Linked DNA regions of Homo sapiens: region 1 is linked to region 2. The links are contacts of gene promoters, found by promoter capture Hi-C in human tissues and cell types (Jung and others, 2019). All regions are on one chromosome and are shown on one strand. Each heading gives the region's core, a stretch centred on a gene start or on the middle of the fragment in contact. The rest is flanking DNA. Distances are from core to core; before and after follow the strand shown. Region 1 holds the start of TMPRSS6 (transmembrane serine protease 6). Region 2 holds the start of ELFN2 (extracellular leucine rich repeat and fibronectin type III domain containing 2).

Region 1 (3,704 bases), core at 398-2,897, 320 kb before region 2:
TTTTTCCCACCCTCTCTTTTCCCCGTCGCACCCCAAGGACACTGGACTTCCATTGGTGAGAAATTTTAACAATGGGATGGTAGCAAACATTTATGGATTAAGAGCAGCCAGCCGGCACCAAGAGCCCTCGTGGACCTTGAGCCCTGTCAGTGCTTGTTCACGGCCAGGCGTCCCCACACTCTTCCTTCTGCCTGGGCCCCCACCTCCCAACCTGGCCAGCTCTTATGCAGCCCCTGTCACCTCAGTTCAGACCTCACCTCTTCGCAGCTCTCCCAGAGTGCCCTAGAAGGGGCGGCTGCCCCTCGCGATGTGCAGCTTACCTGTGGGCACTCTCTCTTTGCCCCTCACATTGAACTCCTGGAAGCGGGGACTGTGCTCCAATTGCCACAGGGGCCTGAAGCAGTCCCCCAGCTCTGAGCACCATGGACCCCACCCTGGCACCTGCTCCTCACTCCCTCCTGCCCTTCTGGCCATTGGAGGGTCTCGGGTCTGCCTGCTGGAGGCTGAGCTCCTTGGGGCGGGGCCGCGACTCCCCCAGCAATGCAGATCCGGATTCAACCACTGCGTATGAACTCCTACCATGTGCCAGCCCTGTGCTGGGCAGTGCTGCAAACTCCACTGCAGCCTCCAACAGCCTGGGGTGCCTACTTTGCTGACTCTATTTAATGGCTGGGGAAACTGAGGTAGAGAGAGGTAACATGACTTACCCGAGGTCCCTCAGCCAGGGCAGAGCAGAGCAGAGCAGGGACTCTGGGCTAGGGCCATAGGGGCATCTTTCAGTGAAACCATTAGGCCCTAGAGTCCTGAGAGTGTGGGGGACTGGGTGGGGGTCCCTTCCACACATATAAACACACTCACAGACCCACAGATGTACACAGATGGAGACACGCGGAGGGATATACGCACATCTATTCATGACACAAAAATTCATAGATGCACGCCCTTCCTACACAGACACACACACGAACACACATACACATACATGCCAACTCTGAGCCTGTGAGCCCAGGGTCCTGGGCTTAAGTCAGTACATAGGTGCAATGTGGGGCTCCGGGCCTGTCTCCTACACCAGAAGGCCCAGGTGGGGTACCGGGTGTGGAGGGGGCAGCATGTCCAGTCCTGCGAGGCAGGGGTAGGGTGGCCTCTCCCTTCCTCCTGTCCCTGCCACCTGAATCCCAGGCCACCAACCACCCAGCACTGATGCTGTGCCTGTCCACACACCTGGTGTCACCCTGCGTGGTCCCTCCCCTCCCCAGCTCTGTGGGCCCCTCACCTTCTGCTCACTGATCACCCTCTGGCCGATGAGGCCCTGCAGGCCTGGCCTCGGAGCAGGGTAGGTGGCTCAGGCTGCAGGGAGCCAGGCCCAGCTCTTAGGGTGGACACTGTCACTAGGTCATTTATAGATCCCGGTCCCCTGTCCTGGAGGCCCCCGCTTACCTTTGGGAGCGGCAGATAGGTGCCGGGCCTGCACACAGGCCTCAGGAGCCTCTGTTTGTCCAGGCCAAGGCCTCCCCACCCCCACCCAGCCAGCCCAGGCTGGATCAATGGCCTAGAGCCATGACCAGGGTGTCTGGCCCTTGTCCCCTGTGGCCTGTGGCCTCAGGCTCCATGGAACTCCTCCTGCTGGGTCCTGGACAGCACTGTGACTAAGTACAGGTAAACAGGCAGGAGGTAGGAGAAGGCAGTGCCTGCCCCGCCCCATCTTCCCCCACCCCCGCATGGGCACCCCAGAGGCTGGCAGGCAGGTGCGGGAGATCTGAGCTCTCCCCCGAGGCCCGTTGCCTGGTGACATGCCTGCCTGGTTACAGCCCCTGGTCCCCGAGAGCATGAGGTAGGGACAGCCAAGGACTGGGGACTGTGCAGAGGCCGGTGCAGGTGAGTGCAGGGGCTCACAAGGGTGAGTCCAGGTGCTTACCTGGACAGGCGAGACTAAAGGAGCTGCTGGCCTGAGAGAGAGAAAAGGAGGCTGGGCCCATATACTCTGGGGACTGGAGAGGAGAAAGGGGAGGCAGGGGTGGGGTTTGATGCTATTTTCTGTTTAGCTGGGAATTATTTGAATTCCTACCTCGTTCTTTTTTTTTTTTTTTTTTTTTTTTAAGATGGAGTCTCACTCCGTCACCCAGGCTAGAGTGCAGTGGTGTGATTTCGGCTCACTGCAACCTCCGCCTCCCGGGTTCAAGCAATTCTCCTGCCTCAGCCTCCCAGGTAGCTGGGATTACAGCGCCCACCACCATGCCCGGCTAATTTTCATAATTTTAGAAGAGATGGGGTTTCACCATGTTAGCCAGGCTGGTCTCGAACTCCTGACCTCAAGTGATTCCACCCACCTCGACCTCCCAAAACGCTAGGATTACAGGCATGAGCGACCGCACGCAGCATGAATTCCTACCTGGTTCCGTAGCGCTGTGCTGTCCATGACGGTAGCCGCTGGTCACCCGTGGCTCTTGAGTCAGTCTGAACTGAGAAAAGCTGCACGGGGGAGACGCACACCAGGTTTCCAAGGCCAAGTGCAAACAGGATGTCAACCAACGCGATAACAATTTTTATATTGATTTTATGTTGAAATAACACTGGTGATCATGGGATAAATAAAATGTATTATTAAAAGCAATTTTCTTCTGGCTCTCTTGTTTTTTTTTTTTTCAGAGACAGGGTCTCATTAGGTTGCCAGGCTGGTCTGGAGCTCCTGGGCCCACATGATCCTCCTGCTTCAGCCTCCCAAGTAGCTGGGATTACAGGCGCGGGCCACCACACCCCTTGTTGCATGTGGATATTAGACAGGTTAAGTCACAAGTGTGACCTGCGTTGTTGTTCTATGGAACAGCGTTGCTGTGGAGATGGGTTTGAGCCATATGCGTGCCGAAGTGCCGGATGGGAGCCAGGGCTTTCTAGGGTGCGTGCAGGGCAGCGGGCGTCTGTCTCAGACAAGGCTGACTTTCAGCGAGTCTACATCCTGAGGCCAGAATGCGGGGTGCACGCCTGAGATGCTGTGTGCTGTGGGCATATGGGTCCCAGAGTGTGTGTGTAAGAGAGACAGTCTGGAATTTGTGTGTGTAGATTATGTATGTGTAGAATGTGCGTGTGTGTGTGTGTGTGTGTGTGTGGAGCGTAGGGATTGTGTGTGGGGTATAAGATTTGTGTGAGAGGTGTGTCTGTGAGGTTTGTATGGTGTGGGGTGGGGGGTGTGTGAAGTGTGTTGTGTGGGCATATGGACTGTGCATGTGTGTGCAGTGTGGGTGCTGGGAATGTGCAGTGTAAGGTGTGTGTGTCTTTGAGGTACGTATGGTGTGAGGTGTGTATGGAGCATGAGAGGTGTGTGCAGCTGTGTGTGTGTGTGTGTGCATGCTCACAGTATGTGTGGAATATGAGGCATGTGTTTAGTGTGAGGTGTGTGCATAGTGTGAGGTGTGTGTGTAGTGTAAGGTGTATGTAGTGTGAAGCATGTGTGGAGTGTGAAGCGTGTGTGTAGTGTGAGACGTGTGTGGAGTGTGAGGTGTGTGTGGAGCGTGAGGCATGTGTGGAGTGTGAGGCGTGTGAGTGGAGTGTGCAGCGGGTGTGAAGTGTGAGATGCTTATGGATTGGCTGGGATGGGACAGGGCCCCGCGCCCGGGCTTTGCCGTGACCGCCGGTTTTCAGCCCTACCTGGCTCCCTTTTAGTTGTAGGAACCTGGGCAGATTCCCTGACTTCTGAGCGGTGCTTCTTC
Region 2 (3,549 bases), core at 140-2,639:
CAGCCCAACACCTGCGTCTCAGCAAGGGACCAAGGCAGTGCCCTCCAGCCGCAGCTGCTGGGTGGGAGGAGTCCAGGGGGAAGGGGCACAGCACAGAGCCCTGAGCTGCAGAAAGTGCCGAGTACCACGTTCCTCCCCAGCTGAGTGCACGGTCAGCACCACTGTCCCCTTCTCGTCTCCCTCCTTGGGCACGCCTGACACACCATGGCCTGTGGCCTCTGTTTTGGACACAAGCTCCCCGAGTGTGCATGCACACGCGCGCGCGCGCACACACACACACACACATCAGCTCCCTTCCCTCCAAACATTCCGAGGAAATCCTGCCAGGCCACTGACAGTGTGCGTGTGTGCGCTTGTGTGTATACAGACAGAGAGCAGGGTCCACCCCATGTCCACACACACACGCACACACCACACACACACAGCACGCACAATCCTCTCCACATGCACACGGCGCCCCACCAGCCAACACACCCACCCCCTCCCCGTCCCCTGACAGCTGCTGGAGCCCACACACGCACGCACACACACACACTGGCACGCGCTCGCACACACACACAAACACACACACACACACACACCCGGCAGTGGCCCCGGCCCTGCCAGAGCTGCAGTGTCTGCGATTTATGCCGCCTCCCTGGGCTGCCTCCCTCCTTGTCCCTGGCCAGCGCCTCTGAAAGGGTCCCCACCCCCCAATTCTGGTCTTACCAACCCCACCGCCGTCAAGCCCCACCCTGGCCCCCCTTCCCCTAGAAGGCATCCACCCCGTCAACCCCTCTTACCAGCTAGAGGATGAATGCCTTGACCCGGCAGCACCCCGTGAAAGAGAGGGGTTAGGGCCCCCGATTCGAAAAGATGAGGGCAGAGAGGTGCAGTGTGGCACCGGCTGGCACACCGTCCACCATCGAGCCTCTGCACCACCCCCAGAAACGCTCACCTCACCGACCGTCCTCGGTGTCCTCCCACCGCCTCCGCCCACCGCCACCACCACCACCTCCCTCGCGCAGGGTGGTCCCCCGGGGGTCTCACGGGGATCCCCAGACCCAGGAGACACTGGGGGTGGCTCTCCCCGTCTCATCCCCCCTTCCGTGTCCCTCTCCAAGCCCCACCCCCACTGACGGAGGGGGTGCCCTCCGGCTCCAGCCCCGACTCCCACCGTCTCCCCGGTCGGTCGGTCGCGGCGCTCGGATCCAGAGGAATTCACTTACCCCAGCCCCAGCCGGGATCCGGGCCAAGCACCGCCTCCGGGAAGCGGCGGCCGCGGGGCCTGCGCGTGTGAGTGTGAGTGTGAATGTGAGTGTGAGCGCGGGTGTGGGTGCGGGGTGCGTGGCCGTGGGGTGGCCCGCGTGTGTCTGTGTGTGTGTCTGGGAGCGCGCGTGTGCGCGCAGACGCCGCCGCCCCCTCCTCCCCGCCGCCGCGCCTCTGCCCCTGCCTCGGCGGGGAGGGCGCCCGGGAGGGGCCAAGCGGCGCGCGTCAGGGACCGCGGCAGGCTGTGTCCGTCTGTCCGTCCCCGTCTGTCCGTCCGCCAGCCCGCCCGCTCCCGGTGCCCTCCGCAGGCCTTTCCGCAGCAAGCCCGCTCCCGCCCCCGAGCCGGCCGCACGCTCCACGGACACACGCGCGCTCGCAGACACACGCCCGCGGGGCTGGGGCCGCGCCTGGCGCCGCCGCTGCAGCTGCAGCGCCCGGGGAGGCGAAGGCGGCCCCACGGACCCGAGCCCCGGCCTGGCGGACCCCTGTCCCGGCCGCGGCCCCCTGCGCTGCTCACCCCGCGGGATCCGGGTCCGGGTCCGGGTCCGGCCTCCGCCAGCGCATTCAACAGCTGGGGGCAAACTTGCGGCGGGGCCGCCCGAAGTGCGCCTGGACTCGCCCTCCCCCTGGACTCCGCCTCCGCTGATGGGCCCCCTCTCCGCCTTGTACCTCCATGCCCTGCCGCCTGCGCCCTGCTGGTTGGTCCCGCGTTCAACCGCTGGCGACTGGGGAAGTGCGGCTGCTGCGTTCCCATTTTACAGGCCAGACAACTGAGGTTCGGAGAGGAGTGATTCCCCCAAGGTTACACAGGGAGCCTACAGACAGTATTAGACTTTACGCTCCCCTACCTTGTGCCAGGGCACTCACTGCCTTTCCCCACCCCTCCAGGAGTAGGTCCAAGGGATACTGGGCTCATCTGTAGCTAGAGAACCTTCATTAGCCTTCCAGAGGCCCAGTTCCCCGCCCCTTACGCCAAAGCCCCTGCCACCTGCTGCCACCTGCAAAGGGGTGGATGCTGGGAGGAGGAGGAGGAGGTGGAAGATGCAAGAAGCCTGGCACCCGGGGCCTATAACTTGGTGCTTGGGCATGCAAGCACCTCCTCCCGAGGCCCTGCGAGCTGCATGTCGGAGGCCTGCTGCCAGCAGGCCCTGTACTTCTCCATCACTTTTATAGGACCGCATGCACCAGCGCCTGTTCTCAGGTGTTGCACAGCAGATGAAGTCCAGGCTGCGGGAACTCCCCGTCGGGACATCTCATGCAGGTCTGGAATAAGGAGACTCCCCAGAAGAAGCCACTGCCTGAGCTGAATCTTGATGGATGAGTAGGAGTTGGCCAGCTAAAGAAGGAGGAGAAGGGTGTCCTGGACTCTGGGAACAGCATGTGCAAAGAGGCACAGAGGCATGAAACAGCTTTGTATGTGTGTACAGGGAACTCCACGGAGTTGGGTATTAGTAGAGCAGAAAGAACGTCTGTCCAGAAATTCCTCCCTCCTTTCAACTAAGAACAGGGAACGGCCCAGGATGGGGCTGGGAGGGCAGACAAGCACTGGGTCACAGGCCACTTGTTGTCCTGGGGTATGCAGAAGGACTATTGGGCGTTCCCCACCTGCACCCCAGGCTGCCTGGCACACTCCTACCCATCCTTCAAGGTCCCTCGCTGCAAACCCAAACAAGCCATGTGCTGTCTCTGCCCTCTAAACTGAGCCCTCCTACAGGGCAGGGGCGGTATCCAACACATGGTGTGTATCCCTGACAAGGCTGGGCAAGAAGCAGGGTCCCAGCTCCAAGACCTTGCTGGAAGAGCCCCTCAGGCGGAACATAACGGCCTCTGCGCCCTCTGGCGGATCCCTCGAGAAATTAGAGTGCTCCCCAAGCCAACAGCCCCCCTGTGGCTCTCAGGCCCAGACACTTTCTGAGATGGGCACTGGCAGATGCCACCTAATCCGCTCCTGCCCAAGAAACTGAGCAGTGATGACCCCAAAGAATACCAGGGAGTCAGTGGCAAAACAGCCTCTTGCTGCTCTGTTTCCGAGACATTCCCAGTCATCTTCCAGAGTGCAAGTCACAACCCTCTCTGAGCCTGTTTCCTCCTTTGTGAAAGAAATATAGCAAAAGCAGCCAGTACCCCCAGCACAGTGCCGGCCACTCCCTTCTCCCTGGAGACCTCCAGGTCTGGCTGGATTTGGTCAGAATTTGTTTGAAGCTCTAAAACGGTCTAAGAATCTCCCTTTGGAGACTTTGCCCTTACTGGGCAGATGTACATTGACAAGAGTTTCAGCTCTTAGCTGACTTTCTGCCACCA

What was found. Contacts are between HindIII fragments. The study calls those that stand out against the background at their distance.
Region 1: a contact is called between the fragment with the promoter of TMPRSS6 here and the fragment with the promoter of ELFN2 in region 2, in 4 of the 25 tissues and cell types used here (H1 embryonic stem cells, mesendoderm cells, small bowel and 1 more).

Annotation. Positions count from the first base shown.
Region 1 is chr22:37,108,066-37,111,769 of GRCh38, forward strand. TMPRSS6 (transmembrane serine protease 6) reads right to left here and starts at 1,648. Exons shown (of 18, transcript NM_001374504.1): 1 at 1,438-1,648. RefSeq lists an enhancer at 1-379. The HindIII fragment of the contact is 35,568 bases long and covers 1-3,704 here.
Region 2 is chr22:37,426,090-37,429,638 of GRCh38, forward strand. It overlaps ELFN2 (extracellular leucine rich repeat and fibronectin type III domain containing 2), which reads right to left and starts at 1,390. Exons shown (of 3, transcript NM_052906.5): 1 at 1,209-1,390. The HindIII fragment of the contact is 24,898 bases long and covers 1-3,549 here.